Linked DNA regions of Homo sapiens: region 2 is linked to region 1. Evidence: promoter capture Hi-C in human tissues and cell types (Jung and others, 2019). All regions are on one chromosome and are shown on one strand. The core of a region is centred on a gene start or on the middle of the fragment in contact, and the rest is flanking DNA. Distances in the headings are between cores, read along the strand shown.

Region 1 (7,687 bases), core at 1,383-3,882:
GCAGTCGCCGCGCCCCGGGCCGCCGAGGCCACTCGTGGGTCGTGGGTCGTGCGTCTTCCGTGTCCTGTAAGGGCTGTCTGGCTCTCCCTGCCAGGGGTGCAGGGGGCTGGGATGGTGGGTTTAATATTAAGAGGAGGAAATCTCAAATCTTCCTCCCCTCAATGCCCTCCTCCCCCCCGCTCCCACCCCCCACACACACTCTTTCTCTAGATGCCCAGAGAATAACCTACCTCCCTGGTCGGGACCCCTTCCCACCCCACACCCCACAGCTAGGCCCAAGCTATGGGGATGCAGCCCGAGTGGGAGATTATGAGACCAGAAACGGGACCCTCCCTCCCCGCTTCCACCAAGGTCCTGGGGCCTCCGAAGGCCAGAACGGCAGAGAGAGCAGGAGGGCAAGGGCAGGGGCTTTGGGTAATACACCGTGTTATGTTTGAACACCATCATTCTCAGATTTGGGGCGGGGAGGATCGTCTAAACTGCCTAAAATGCGAAGCTTTTGGCTGCCACCGGTTATAGAGCATTTGAAACCCGAAAAGCTAATATCCTGAAGTCTCCGGACAGGAGAGATGACAGTAGGGCACTCCAAGCTTCCTCCTCCCCCGGGCGCACCAAAGGCCGGGTTTGTGGGCTTCTCAGTCCGGCGCGGGTAAGCACAGGAAGCGGCTCCAATCAGGGCACTGGAGTTTGAGCCGGTCCTACCCTGGGCCACAGCCCAGACTCCTCGGCCCACTGTGGCACCTCGCTGCTAGCGCTGCCCCCCGGCCTTCATCGCAGGCCGCGGCCCCTGCGGGCCACCGCTCCCGCCCCGCCGCGCTGCGCCCGCAGACCCAGGTGGCTCCTGGAGCACTCCGAGCCGCCTGGGTCGGGACCTCAGATCCACTCCCAGCCCCGCGAGGCTGCCCTGCCGCTTCGCCCAGAAGGTCTCTTCGATCTGTCCGCTTCCCGGAATCGCTCTCTTAGGACCGGGTCCTGTGTGGCCCAAGTCCTCTCCTCCTAAAGAAACACTTTCAGGGGGAAGCAGCAAAAATTCGGGGCTCGCCTGCCATGGCTCAGATCAACTACTTTCATCGCCTACCTAAACGCTTTTTCACACGCGGAGCTGCAGGACCCCTCGTGCTACCCTCCCCAAATTCCAATAGCTTCCACCACAAGAAAAAGCTGTGATCCTGTTACTGAATCCTAAAAACGCCACCCGTTCCTCCAGCCCCCAACTCCGACCTCCAGCCCTCTGCTCTGGCCGGCGTGTAAACTACTTATCGGCCCCTCGATCCCGATTCCGTAAACAGTCTGGATCCTATAAACCGAACTCTAGACTGGTCCTAAAACCCAGCCCTAATTCAGGCCGATCCACAAGCCCCTACCCCTCAATTCCCAACCCGAGTCTCCCCACCGCGCGGAAACCCCCGGCTCCCCCGTGAAGAGCCCCGGGAAAGGACGGCCCATTTCGCTCGTTTCTTCCTGGGGATCGGGAGCCAGGAAAGCCCGTCTCCTAACCCGAAAGAAATGCAAACTTTGAGCGGCAGATTCGGGATCCTGCGCCATCCCCCTCAGCTCTCCGCTCTCGATCGCTTTCAGTTCCCTCTTTTACGAACTCATCCCCTAGTTCTCGAGCCAGAAGGGCTCCCGATTCCCAAGCCTCGCGCGGGCCCCTACGCCCGCCTCACCAAAGATCCCCAGCAATCATGGAAAGCCGGTGACCCTACACATTCTCGCTCCTCCCTGGGTGAGGGTCCGTGCGTGTAGCCCCTCGGATCCTGGCTTCCCGGGCCCCGCCGGTGTTCCCCTGTCTCCACTGATCCGTCTGCAAACCCTCATTCGCCCTGCCTCCCCAGGCCGCGGCCGCGGCTCCTCGACTCCTCCGGTCACCTGGCCCCAGCCTGGGACCGCTCCCGCCTCCAGCCGCTGGAAAGCATCTCCAGGCTGGTGGCGCGGAGTAAGCGCCGGCCCCAAGGACGCCCGAAGCCGGGAGAAAGAGAACCTGGAGCCTGCCCGCGGTTCCCAGCCTCTCCCCGCGGAGCGCCCGGCCGGGAGCCTTCTGCACCCGGGCTCGGGCCGGCGTGCCTGTTCCTATTCTCGGGTCCCCTGGCGCTCCTGGCGCACAGCTCCCCGCCCGCCCGCTACGGGGTTGGGCCCGCGGCGATTCGAGTCCGCAGCCCGGCTCCTTGCACCCGAGGACAATGCGCGGCCGGCCACGGGCCCAAGCGCGGCGAGGCGGCGGCGGCGGCGGCGGCGGGGCTGAGCGCTGGCCGGGCAGGGGAGCGGGCGGCCCGCGGGGCTCTCGCAGCCTCCGTGCCCGGCCTCGCCGCCCCTCGCGCTGCTCCGCTCCGCGCTCTCCCGGCGCTTCCCCAGCTTCTCTCTGCACGCTCCCGCCGTCCCTCGCTGCTCCCTGCCTCCCTCCTCCCTGCTGCCTCCCTCTCTCTCCTCCCTGCTGCCTCCCTCTCTCCCTCTCTCCTCCTTGCCCTGTCGCAATGAATAATACTCTGGCTTGGGGACTGGAATAAAACACACGCGCTCTGAGGCAGCCGCCCGCAGCAGCAGCCGCCGCCGCGCCGCCGCCGCCGCCTGCAAAAGCGTCTCTGACATGGAAATGAATGACAGCTTACCTGATGCCAATCTTCATCAGACTGACACCGGCGTGACAACACAGCCTATACTTCCCAGCACTGCTCGGGACGTCAGCGGCACAGGGACCCGCCCCCCGGACCCCCCCTTCACACACCTCCCCTCTCCCCACTCCCCCTTTTCTCCCCACCCCCCATCACCCCCACCCACTCCCGGCCCGGCCGCTGCCAAGTCGGAGGAGCCGCTGGAGTGTCTCCCTCTACCGGAGGCTCTCGGGCGGCGGGCGCGGGCCTGCTCCTGCGGCAGGGAGGCGGGCGGCCTGGAGAAGCGGCTCCGCTCGCGAGGAGCCTCGGATGGGGAGTGCGGTGGACCCCCAGGAACTCTGGAGCACCCTCCCGCCCCCAAGCCAAGTCCTCCTTAGCGAACAACCGGGGCCGAGTTCCAAGATATCACCGGTGCTGAGGGGACCGAGATGAGGTGAGATTTTCTGTGGACCCCAAGAGAACTCCCCAGAAATGATGAAACTTAAAACGGGCAAGAAATCCTTCCTTCCACCAGCACTCCCCCTCCCCCTTTTCCTGCCTGGCTGGCCTCATTTTTATGATTGCATTTGAATAATTCTCATTACCCTGGCCCCAGAAAAGGTGTTCAGATGACACTCTGGTTAGTTATTCCTGGTCTCAAGAGCTTTTTCTGCTGTGGGCTTCCCGGGGTGTCTGGTTCAAGGTGGGGCAGAGGGAGAGAGGAAAGAGTGGATAGGCTTTGTCAGTAAAGCACTTCTTTGCAAATGTCAGGCAAGCCTGTTCTAAGCCACTGCTATTTTCATTCTAATAAAAAGTCCTCAAGAAACTCAGTGAGTTCCCAGAGTTCTGGGGGCTGGGGTGCAGTCATATAAAGGGAAAGACCAGCTGGGCTGTTTCAGCCTGGGCCTGCTGGGGTGGCTTCATCTACATCAGGGAGGAAATGGGCTCCTTACATGCCCTCTACAGTGGAAGACAAAAGCAGGCATGTGTAGACCCACAAGCGCCTCCATTCACTCAGCAGAGATCACAGTCCTACTAAGAGCCACACACAGGAGCACACTTGCTTGCTTCCTCAACTTAGCACATGGCCCTCCGCATAAAGGGACAAGAGAACCCCTTCTGCCTCTGGAAGTTTGCTTCTTGCTCCCCATAGAGGAGCCCTTTCAGCCAGTCAGGCAGCCATTGATCCTCTGACCCCAGGCCAGGCAGGGGGCCTGGAAGAAGCCCAGACAAAGACACCGACAAAAGCGGGAAAGCAGAAAGTGAAACCCAGCCTCTGGGTTTTCAGTAAAGAATCTGACCCAAGAAGTTGAAGGCTGCCCCTGAGCTCTTCTCAGGCCTCTGGGTCGCCACTCACCCGCCTCCGTCATGGGCAAGGATGAGAGCTGTTAGCATTGCCTGGCTCAGGGGAGGCAATTGAGACCCTTCTTATATCACATCCCAGATACACACACTACTGTTTGTCCAGATCCTCCCAATACCCTCAAATCCACCCACCAACGTTGCTTGTGGGAGAAACTCTTCAGTGGTAGCCCCCATTATAGACAGATTAGAATCCTCTCACCTTCACATAGAACCTTCAAAAACTTCACTAGGTGGATTTATGTCACCCTAGCCTCTGATCTGCAGTCAGAGTCTCTGGCTGCTGACAGCATAATCGCTATTATATATTATACATTGTATAATAATATAATAATAATGAATGCACTTGCCCTTTTTATGTGGTACAGAAGCGGCCAGATTCTCCAACCCAGAGGCTGGAGGTCAGGCTGCCATAAACTCTCAGAGGGAAGCCCTCTTCAGATAAGGGAGGGGGAGGGGAGATCCATTTGTCTCTGCCCAGGACCCCTGGAGGGAGGAGTTTCTCTCTTTCCCATGGCTCCCAGTGAGTTGCTGCAGCCTGCAGAGTCAGAGGGGAAAATCAGGCTGAATTCACCCCATCAGAGAGGTGTCAGTGAGCCATAAATAGGACCGCAGGCAACAGCCTTGGATCACTGATTTACACCTGTCACACCCCTCGTTTTCTGAAATCTAGATCAATGCCCAACACTTTCCTGATATGGGAGATCCATTGCCATGAGCTATTAATTTTTGGAGTCTTCAAATACTATGATTTTCACTAATACCTTTTTGGTGCTTTAAACTGCACATCGTAGTTTTAAGTAAATATATCTTGCTTTGACTATTTTTGTCATTTGCAAGAGCTTAAAAAATGATTATCCAAAATATAACCATCGTTTTTATAATCACTGAAGGCAAATATTTTCCCTGCACCCACCAGAAGCTCTGCTGTGTGCTAGCACTAAGAATAAAGAGCAGAAGCAAAGAGGCTCAGGTTATGGCTCCTGTCCTCAAGAAGCATTCATTTGTTGAAGAAGACAAAGCGCCAATATGTAAAACATTAAGTAGCAATAATACAGGAATCAACAGAAGACACAAGCTAGTAAATACTTAATGAAGAAATGAGTTGTCAATATGTCAAATTCCATGAGTTCCACATCTCAGTTTTGGCTCTGTCAATGAGTAGAGAAAGGATAGAGTAGAAATTAAGAATTCACTACAGATACTCTACAATTTCTTCCCCATCATCCCTCTGAGGATGAAGAAGAGAATGGAGAGGAATGTACATGTTGTATTGCATAAGCCATCAACACACTGACATTATAACCAAATAGAAGTTTCTACAAATCCTAGTTATCACTCCTAAATTTTGGAGTTTCTGTTTGGTTCTGGGCCCTCTTCTCACTCTACCTGCACTTTGTCTGTGGTATAAGCAGCCCACACCAGCCCAGGCTGCCTCCTCCAATCTTCCAATGTGGGTGATCAATGGCCCAACTGAATTCTGCCAATGTCACAATATGAATAAAAATTTAAGACCTGTCTGTATTAGTTTGCTCAAGCTGCCACAACAAAATGCCACACACTGGATGGATTCAACATGAGACATTGATTTTCTTACAGTTGTGGAGGCTGGAAGTTCAAGATCAACGTGCCAGCAGAGTTGGTTTCTGGAGAGGCTTCTCCTCCTGGCTTGTAGATGGCACCTTCTCACTGTGCCCTCGCGTGGCCTCTCCTCTGTGTACACAGGCAGAGAGACAGCTCTGGTGGTCTCTCCCTCGTCTTATAAGGACAGTCCTGTTGGATTGCGGCCTAACCTTATGACCTCGCTTAACCCCCCTAAAGGCCCTGTCTTCATATACGGTCACATTGGGGGTTAGGGTGTCAACATATTAATTGGGGTGGCGGACACAATTTAGTCCATAATACCACCCAACTACAGTTCCCTTCACTCTCAACTTAATTATTTTTAATGAATATTGATAGATTGCGAGTTCCCTGAGGATGGGGACAATATCTTATTTCATCTTAGGATCCCTAAAACCTGGTCCAGTGCCCAATCCAGAAAACATATTAAAGAAATGCTTGTTGGATTGAACTGAATGAAACATCATTGTTCCAGTCCTAGTTGACAGACTTATCACTAGTCACCTGGAATATTTTGATAATTTTTTAACTGGTCTCAATGCCTCCAGTATCTCCAATCCCTCCTATACACTTGCACAAGGATGTTCTTCCTATAACAAAGGTTGGATCACACCTTGGTTTCTCCTGAAAATCATCAGTAGCTTTCCATTGCTTATAAGATTTAGCCTAAAAAGTTACTGGGCCTTATAATAAAAAGAAGGACCTTGAATGCCACACTCCTTACTTAGCAAGGTCTTCATGTTAGTCCTCATCTGGCCCTGATCCCCTTTCAGGCTAATCTGCTCCATTCCTGCCAACGCCTCCCCAACTCCACCTTCTAGTGATTTCCAGTGCTTCCTGCTGCATCAGAACCCCCACCCCAACCCCCGGGGAACTTCTTTATAATTCAGGGTTCCAGGTTCCACCCCTAGAGAAATCAGTCTGGAGAAAGGCCTTGGAGCCCGTATTTTAAAAGTCACTGCAGTTGTGAGGTTTGGGCACTTCCATTCTACCCAGCACTCCTGCTCCAGCTCATGGGCCCCAGAGTACATTCTGGATTCTGGGCCCTTCCTGTACTTGCTCACACTCTTCCTTCAGCCCCGGGTTTTCATTCCCCCTTTTCCTACCTTCTGAATCCTATCTGCTTATAAGCTTTCATGGAAACATCACCTCTCTTCAAAGGATCCTTGGATCCCCCAAAAGAGAACACCAGCTCTGGGATCGCCAGGCCCTGGCTCAGCTCTCCACCCTGTAATGAAATGGCCAGCTATCTGGGACATTACTGGTGAGTGCCAAGTCTCAGTTTCTGTGTTTGTGAAATGAGGATGATAATAGAATCCAACTCATGACACCATGGGGATTAAATAAAATCACAAATCTAACGAGCTTAGCACAGTCCCTGGCACATGGGAGGCTCTTCAATAAATGAATGGCAGCATTAGGTTTAATAGCCCTTTACACAGGGCTGCCCAGTGCTTTGCATTTGCCTTTGCCTTTATTATAGTGCTTATTTAATTGGCCTGAGGAAGGGAGATATTGTTTACAGAGAAAGCTGCCACAGGCCCTGAGGGCTGCAACACGGATAATGGGAGCAAGGAAATGAGGGCAGGGGGACGCTTCTCTCTACCTAAGGCCTCCTTCCTGACCCTGGATCCAGGTGGGGCTGTGGTGGGGGGAGCCAGGGCCAAGTGAGGAAGACTCCGTTCCTGATGAAATAACGCAGGAAGGGCACATCCTTTGGAGAAAGGGGTGGGCAGACAAGGGGAGACCTGAGAGGTATAAAAACTCAGATGCTAGAAATCCTCCAAAAGGGAGTGCGGGTCCAGGATTTTGCTCTGAGCTGAAAGCTGGGATGTCCAGGCCCCTTGCCCATGTCTGATTTTTTTTTTTTTTGACCCTGGGAAAGCCTCTCAGCTCCCTCATCCCACTCCCACCCTCTGAAGCAGGGGGATGAAGCCTGTCCTCTGGGCACACGATAGGCAATTAATTGGGTCATGCCTTTAACCAGCTCCTCTAATATAGGAGCAATATAATCCCCAAAGCTTTTTAAAAACCCATCTTCTTTATGGTACTGATGCACTTTAGGGAAGTTTCTTCAAGCACTGTCTCCTCCCCATCCCTTACTTATCCCAAGC
Region 2 (7,687 bases), core at 1,536-4,035, 260 kb before region 1:
AGGACGCACGCTGTGGGGCTGTGGGGTAAGTAGCAGCGTTTAGCAGCTCTGGGGACAGGTGTGTCAGCCAGAACATTCCTGGCACCACATCTGAGTGGTCATGGGAGCAGTCCAGCTCGTACACGCCTCAGACCACATGATTCCTGAGGACAGAGTCAAAATAGTCCTGGCCTCTGGACAGACCATGATTGGGTCAGCGCTACTTTTAGCACAACTGGCCAGGCTTGGGGCCAAGGAGGGGAAGAAGAATCAAATGAGATCACGCAAACCATCAAGGCACAGTGGCTGCTCTCTGATCATTATTGGATCACGGCAAACCATCAAGGCACAGTGGCTGCTCTCTGATCGTTATTGGATCACGGCAAACCATCAAGGCACAGTGGCTGCTCTCTGATCGTTATTGGAGGGAACTCCCTGGATTTGGAAGAGAAGGGCCCAGACAGTAGCTCTCTGGAAGTAGATAATCCTTCCTTGAAAAAGAAGTAGATACAGTTCATGAAAAGCAAGGAAAAGAAAAAGAAAAAGAAAAAGAGGTACAGAACAGACTAGAAGATGACAGAGCCTTCTCAGGGACAGCTGGAGCCTCACACGACTGGGCAGTGCTGCCAGGGAGTAAAGGACCTTCAGAGATGGGATCAAGTCCTGACCCACCCCTTAACATTGTGTGACCTTGACACACGCAAGTGACCTTTGTTTGTTTTATGTCTTCCATCCTTAGATGGAAGTAGCAAAACAGTGACTAACTCTTGGACATGGGGATGATTTAATGAGATAGTGCAGGGTAAGCCTGTGTGCTCCATTGACTCACTCTGTGCGATGCACTGAAGCCTCCCGGCATCATCTAGTTGAATACTCAAGGACTCTAGAGAAGGGAATTATGGTATTTACACCAAGTAGGTGTCTCAGGGCACTGTAGTTGCCACCAGGAAGTTCCGCTGAAATCTGACCTCAACTCTTTCCCATCTCTCTCTGATACCTCCCTTTATAGCCCCATAACGCAACTCTCCTCTGGACTAAACTGATACTAAAAGCATCTTTCAATTGAAAGAGTGAGTTCTGCCCAGGGGCTGGTTCAGAAGGAAGCTAAGCCAGTTCTGGTTCACAGGTCCTGGATATTTCTTTCATGCACAGCCCATTGGCAATTGTCCTTCCACCTCCTAGCCATGTAGATCTCACCATGAGGTGAGCCAGTTCACCAAGGGACACAGCAGATGGGAAGCCGCAGCCTGTCAGTGTCAATAGACACTGAGGTGCTGGTGGAGCGGGGCATGGAGGCTGATTCAGATCAGCGAGCTTCCATTAGGTTTCCTGCCATCAGCAGCGCTGCACCAGAGTCCACTACACGCTTTTCCCCTCCTCTCCCTCTTGACAGCTGTGGGGCCATGGGCTGCTGCCAGCCACCACTCTGGGGTGGTTCCACTCTAGGAGGGCCAGAGACCCAGAGGAAGGCAGCCAGGATGGTGGGGGCCCCAAAACGACCACATTCCATCACATCTAAGAGGCCACTGATGGTGGGATGTACCCAATTTCAGAGATGTTAAAATGGAAGAAAAAAAAAGTCTTTTAGAATAAAGAGAAGCACAATAAGTCACCCGAGAAACTTCTCTTTCTGTAGTCATTGCCCTTGTTCATGCTTTCCATTCTTTTATTTTTGCTCTCATTTTTATCCCTGCTCCCCTTAAAACTGAACACTCAGAAAAGTACGAAGAAAAGCAAACACCCATGTAACCACCCCCAGGTCAAAAAAATAGGATACTACCAGCACCCCACAAACCCCCTTCTGTCCCCCCAAACACCTCTCCAAAGATCTCCTGACTTTTGCAGTAACCACTTTCTTGCTTTTCTTTATAGTTTTGCTATCTGTGTTACATCCTAAACATGATGACCTAGTTGACATCAGGTTTTTGAACCTGATGTAAATGGAATCATTCATCCATGCTGGCTCTGTTTAACTGTAATTGTTCCTTTTAATCGCTGTGTAGTTTTCCACTGTGAAGACACACTGCTGTCCCATTCTTCACCTTCCTGCAATCTCAAAACTATTCTCTTTCCCTCTGGTTTCTGTGTCAATCTATGCTTCACAATGCCAGCAAGATGGGTCCTTCTTAACCTCCTCCCCATCCCCATCCCTGATAAGTGAAGCCCTCTCAGATGCCCCTTCTATGAGCTCTGAGCACTTGCCCTATCTAGGATTCTTCCTACTACAGGGGCTTTGGGTCTGTGTAGCTACCTGTCACCCCAAGGGGCAGGCTGCAAGTGTTTTGAGAAAAGGGACCATGTCTTTCTTTTCAACCCTACCTCACTAGCACCAAGGAAAAATGTGTGGCATGTAGTAAGTGTTCAGTATGCATCTGTTGAATGAACGAACACGGGGCCTTCGGAGTAACTGGTACTTCTCACCATTTCCTGTGGGCATCTGCAGGTTAAAGGTGAGTGGGGAAAGCATCAGTGATCGGACCTCCCAGGAGCTCCACCTAGAGGCAGGTTGCTCTACTCACTAATAATGCTGCTTTTTCAATTATTGTTGAACGTATATTCAGGGAGGATGTGGAAGAGAAAAAGGGGGTACTTAAGAGTCCATTAAGGCACACCGGTCACCTCTCTAAAGAAGACGTGGAGGCAGTACTGTTAGAAGTACGTGAGAACACGGACTCTAGAGTCAGACTGCCCAGGTTTGAATCCTTGTCTTGTCTCTAACCGGCGTGAGACCTTGGGCAAATTACTTAGTTTCTTCTTCTGTAAAATGGGAGAGATAATTCCACCTGCTTCAAGGTTGCTATAAGAATTAAATGAGTATATATGTATATATGTGTATATACATACGTATATATGTATGTGTATACATATGTGTGTGTGTGTGTGTGTAGCTAAACTGATCAGTATCAGTAAATGAGTTAATATACGAAAGCTATTTAGAACGGTGCTTAGTGTACTCTGTGTTTGTTAAATAAATAACAAATAAGTCTGTAGCTTGACGCATGTGGCTGTGTCTCTGAAGAAGCCACAGGTTGTTTCCTGGCAGATGGCAGGAGCCTCCCAGCAGCCCCTTCTGTGAGCATACAAATACGCTCATTTTTTCAAATGGGTTTTATTTCCTGCATGTACTATGATGGGGACATTTTATCCTAACCTGAGTCTTAAGCTTCTTGGGGAATGCTGTGAGGTTGTAAATCTCCTGCAGCCATTTTTCAGGTGGACTTTCTTAGAGCTGCAGCCCTCTGGGGTGTCCTGGGGCTCAGTGCAACCCAGGGGTCTCTTGCACACCTTCCCTTTTCAGCGCCTCCATGCAACCCTGCAGCTGACTTGCCTGTTGTCGACAAGGCTCAGTCTTGGATGGAGAAGCATCAATCCAATTCTTCCTTCCCTGGGGACACATTGCCAGCAGGGCACACACCCTGGGACAGCGCTACACCAGGGGATGCCTCCGACAGTCAAACATCACTCCTGGGGAGTTGGAGGGCAGCTTCTCTCTAGATCCCTACAGCGAAGGATGGGTGGAGAAAACACTCTCACCCCACAGGCAGGAGTCTGAGGTCTAAGATTTCTCTGGGACAAAGAGAGAAATGTAACCAAGAACCCAGCTGGCCTGACCTCCTTCCTCCTGGTAGCCGTACACTAAAGGCCTTCAGGCACAGATGCCTGAACAGCGTCTAGAATGAAGACAGTCGTGGCTGGGGTAAGGGGCCACAGTGTTCCCAGGTTTCAAGAGTGAGAATAAGGGGTGAAGAGGGTTTGAGGACCACAACAACTTGGAGCGAGGGGTCACTCCCTGTGGCCAATACGAATCATAGGGGCATTGATGATTATCTAAGAGATAATTGTCATCCAAAATGACCCCTCCTTTTTCTCTTCCTACCCAATCCTAAATCCTAGCCATCCTTCATAAGGCCCAGCCCAAATGCCAGCTTCTCCAACCAAACCCTGTTAACCAACATCTCAAGATTACACAGAGCTCTCAGGGTCTCTGTGTCCAGCTTCTCCCACAGGGCAGGAGCCCTCTACACCAGCGCTTTCCAGCCAGCATACCCCAAGAAGGTGTAAGTGTGCAGACAGCGGTGTCCTTGGCCCCGGATGTGGTTTGCAGAGTCTGGAGCAGCAAGGGCTCCCCGGCTGGTCTCCGGGCGTAAGCAGCCTGGTGGCTTGACTATCATTTTCTATGTGTGCTGACATAAAAAATGTGACATGCCGGCCTGCAAGGCCACCATCGTTCAGTGCATAGCCCTTTGCTCTGACGGGTAGGAAGGTGTTTCTGCTGAACACGTGGCCACCCTTCAGGCACTGTGTTTTCTAACATATTGTCAATCCTATTCATCATAGGTAGCATTTCTATCTCCATTTTATAAAGAGGAAAGCAATATCAGAGAAGTTCATTAACCTGTTCCAGATCACACAGTAAGTAAAATTAGAGCTTGGACCAACTCAAGCCTATCTGCCTCCAAAGCCCTTGCTCCTTGCGCTACACCATGCTGCCATAAAGGAACAGGCTGCCCGAGTCTTCTTTTCTGCAGGCAAGATATCCCCAGACCCCTCAGCCGCTCCTCACATGACATGCTTCCTGTTAGGGTCACTGGAAGAAACATCTCCCCATCCTGCCTGCCCCCTCTGAAGATGATTGTCAAAGAACCTTTTGCAACCTGATTCTAGTGCCTGGACACACTCTTCTGGCTCTTGAGCCACTCGAGTGTCCGTGCTTGTATAATAGCACTTGATTACGTCGTGGGTTGACCTCTCCTGGCTTATGTCTATCATTTATTTCCCCAATTACATGATCAACCCCCTTAGTGCTGAAATCACATCTCATACCTGAAATTTGGGTGTTCGTGAAGAGATATGTTATTTGGAACTTAGATCATGTTTTTTTTTCATAGACAGAAGTTATTCTAAAAACAGGCAGTTTTCCTGGCCAGTCCTAAAAGCCACTTTGGTTAAAGATCTGTGTTCAAGTCGGGAGGGGTCCATGGGCTTCAGGAAGGACAGGCGAGAGACTGCTCTCTGCTTTCAGGGTCAGAACTAGGCTGGGGAAGACTCCATGATTGATGCAAGTGAACCTTCAGCGTCTCCTTTTTGTGCCCTATTGACACGATGCCCCAGTTCCTTTTCTCAGAAGCCCCTGGGTTCTGTGTCACCCTACAGTCAGCATGCTGAATCTCAGGCCTCTGGGACCCCTGACTTCAGGGTCAAATGCCCTGAAACTATGTTCACAATGATCTAAATAAGCTTTCATCAGATTCTCAAAAGATAGAGAGGCTTAGAGAGGTTGAGAACAATTGTTAGAAACTTCTCTGCACCCCATTCTGGCTTGGCTCCTCAAAATGCTGTTAGAAAGTATTTTAACCTTCATCTTCTACCACCAACAAGCACTAGCATTCTTCTTTTTTTTTTTGAGATGGAGTCTTGCTCTGTCACCCAGGCTGGAGTGCAGTGGCGCAATCTCAGCTCACTGCAAGCTCTACCTCCCAGGTTCATGCCATTCTCCTGCCTCAGCCTCCCAAGTAGCTGGGACTATAGGTGCCTGCCACCACCCCTGGCTAATTTTTTGTATTTTTAGTAGAGTGGGGTTTCACCGTGTTAGCCAGGATGGTCTCGATCTCCTGACCTCATGATCTGCCCACCTCGGCCTCCCAAAGTGCTGGGATTAAAGGCGTGAGCCACCGTGCCCGGCCCCCATTTTTTTTTTTTTAAATAAAAAACTCAGCTTTTTTGGGGGAAATGTGGTGGGGAGGGAACAGGGTCTTACTCTGTTGTCCAGGCTGGAGTGCAGTGGCACAATCAGGGCTCACTGCAGCCTTGACCTCCTGGGCTCAAATGATCCTCCTACCTCAGGCCCACAAATAGCTGGGACTACAGGTGCCCACCACCATGCCTGGCTATTTTTTTGTATTTTTAGTAGAGACGGGGTTTTGCCATGTTGCCCAGGCTGGTCTCGAATTCTTAGACTCAGGCTATCCACTCACCTCAGCCTCCCAAAGTGCTGGCATGATTACAGGTGTGAGCCACTGCACTCGGCCTTTTTTTTTTTTTTTTTAATTTTTTCTTTTTTTAAACAGATGAGGTCTCGCTATGTTGCTCAGGCTGGTCTCGAACTCTCAGGCTCAAGCAATCCTCCCGCCTTGGCCTCCTAAAGTGCTGGGATTATCACTGTGCCTGGCCCCATTCTTCCCATGAAGCTGATCTTAGCTGAGTGGGAATAGTAAAGCAAGCTTTTGAACTAATTCGTACTAATCTGTGAGTAAATGATGGCCTCACAGCCTTTCATAGTCATTGCTTTGTACAGGGATTGGATAGTTTAAAATGGGTCTCTAATAGTGGAATTTCATTAAAAAGTTAATCCTTAATACGTATGCAAGTGGAATTTCAGACAGTATGAGGAAGTTAAAGGAAAAGGTAGCAGACAAAATATTCTGGAACAAAAATGGGCCAGTCTCCCTAAGCCATTTTCTTGTTTTTTTTTTTTTTCTTTTTTTTTCAGGGGTTCTTGCTTTCCTCCATAGGTTCCCCAAAAGTTTTGTGGTTTCTCTCAGCATTTTCCAAGGCAAGGCCAATTATGGGAACTCTCAATGAGACTGGAGGCATTTGTAGCAGTAGCGGTGCCTGTATCGGGACAAAGAACCTTCACGCCCATCCGCTTATTCTATTCTCACAACAACCTATGAGCTGGATATTGCAGCTCCTGTTTTACAGCAGGGGAAAGAGAGGCTTCACAAGGGCAAACAATCACCCAAGCTCGCCAAGCTAGGTAGAGGGGGTGGTGAAAACTCAACCCAGGTCCTGCCCCAGGAACCATGTCCTTTCCATAGGCTATGTGGTTTCTAAGAAACATTGCCATTCCTATGTCAGCCATGTGGATGGGTCCTGTAGGTGGGCCTTTGACAGAGATACAGCTAGAGAGAGTCAACCTCCAGTGTCCGTGGGGGACCAAAATTCATGGATGCTCAAGTCCCTGATATAACATGATGTAGTATTTGCATATAACCTACAAACATCCTCCCGTACATTTTAAAACATTTCCAGATTACTTACAGTAATGAATACAATGTAAATGCTATATAAATAGTTATTATACTGTGTTGTTTAGGGAATAATGACAAGAAAAAAGGCGATACATGTTCAGGACAGATGCAACCATCCACTTAAAGATATATTTTCAATCCAAGGTTGGTCGGATCCAGGGATTCAGAACCCATAGACACAGAGGGCTGACTGTCATCCCTTCAAGACTTAACACAATGCTCTGCGCAGGGGAGGTAGCGAGGCATGCAAAGAATGTGGAGTGACCAAAGGCAACACCGAGGCACAGAGGCAACTGGCTGGGCTTCACCTCCACGTGCCCTCCTTGGCCAGGAGCTCTGTGCAGTGCACCCGCTGTTCCTGGGGTACAGCCGCTCTGCCTCCCCCCAGCCAGAAGGAGCCCGGCATGTGAGGTTCTCAGGCTGGGGGAAGGATAGCTGGGCATCTGACAGAGTCTAAGAGAACAACAGGCACAGAATCATGCAGAGTATACCCGTCATGGCAGCAGGACTTATGAGCCAAGAAGTGAAAGCAACCCCAAAGTCCATCAACTGATAAATGAATAAACAAAATGTGCTACATCTGTACCATGGAATATGCTTCAACCACAACGTGGAATGAAGTACTGATACATTGTCCTAAGTAAAAGAAGCTAGACATGAGAATCCCACAATTCCAT

The links. The method cuts DNA at HindIII sites, captures the fragments that hold promoters and counts their contacts. A contact is called where the count stands out against the background at its distance.
Region 2: a contact is called between a fragment that was not itself captured here and the fragment with the promoter of PKNOX2 in region 1, in 1 of the 25 tissues and cell types used here (H1 embryonic stem cells).

Annotation. Positions count from the first base shown.
Region 1 is chr11:125,159,696-125,167,382 of GRCh38, reverse strand. It overlaps PKNOX2 (PBX/knotted 1 homeobox 2), which reads right to left and starts at 2,632. Exons shown (of 13, transcript NM_001382323.2): 1 at 2,607-2,632. It overlaps PKNOX2-DT (PKNOX2 divergent transcript), which reads left to right and starts at 2,774. Exons shown (of 3, transcript NR_125759.1): 1 at 2,774-3,042; 2 at 6,735-6,837. RefSeq lists a silencer at 2,770-2,919. The HindIII fragment of the contact is 7,397 bases long and covers 1-7,149 here.
Region 2 is chr11:125,418,222-125,425,908 of GRCh38, reverse strand. All of the region lies in intron 10 of PKNOX2 (PBX/knotted 1 homeobox 2), which reads right to left. Among named protein-coding and RNA genes, the nearest start is that of FEZ1, 74 kb to the left of the region's middle. The HindIII fragment of the contact is 5,849 bases long and covers 1-5,709 here.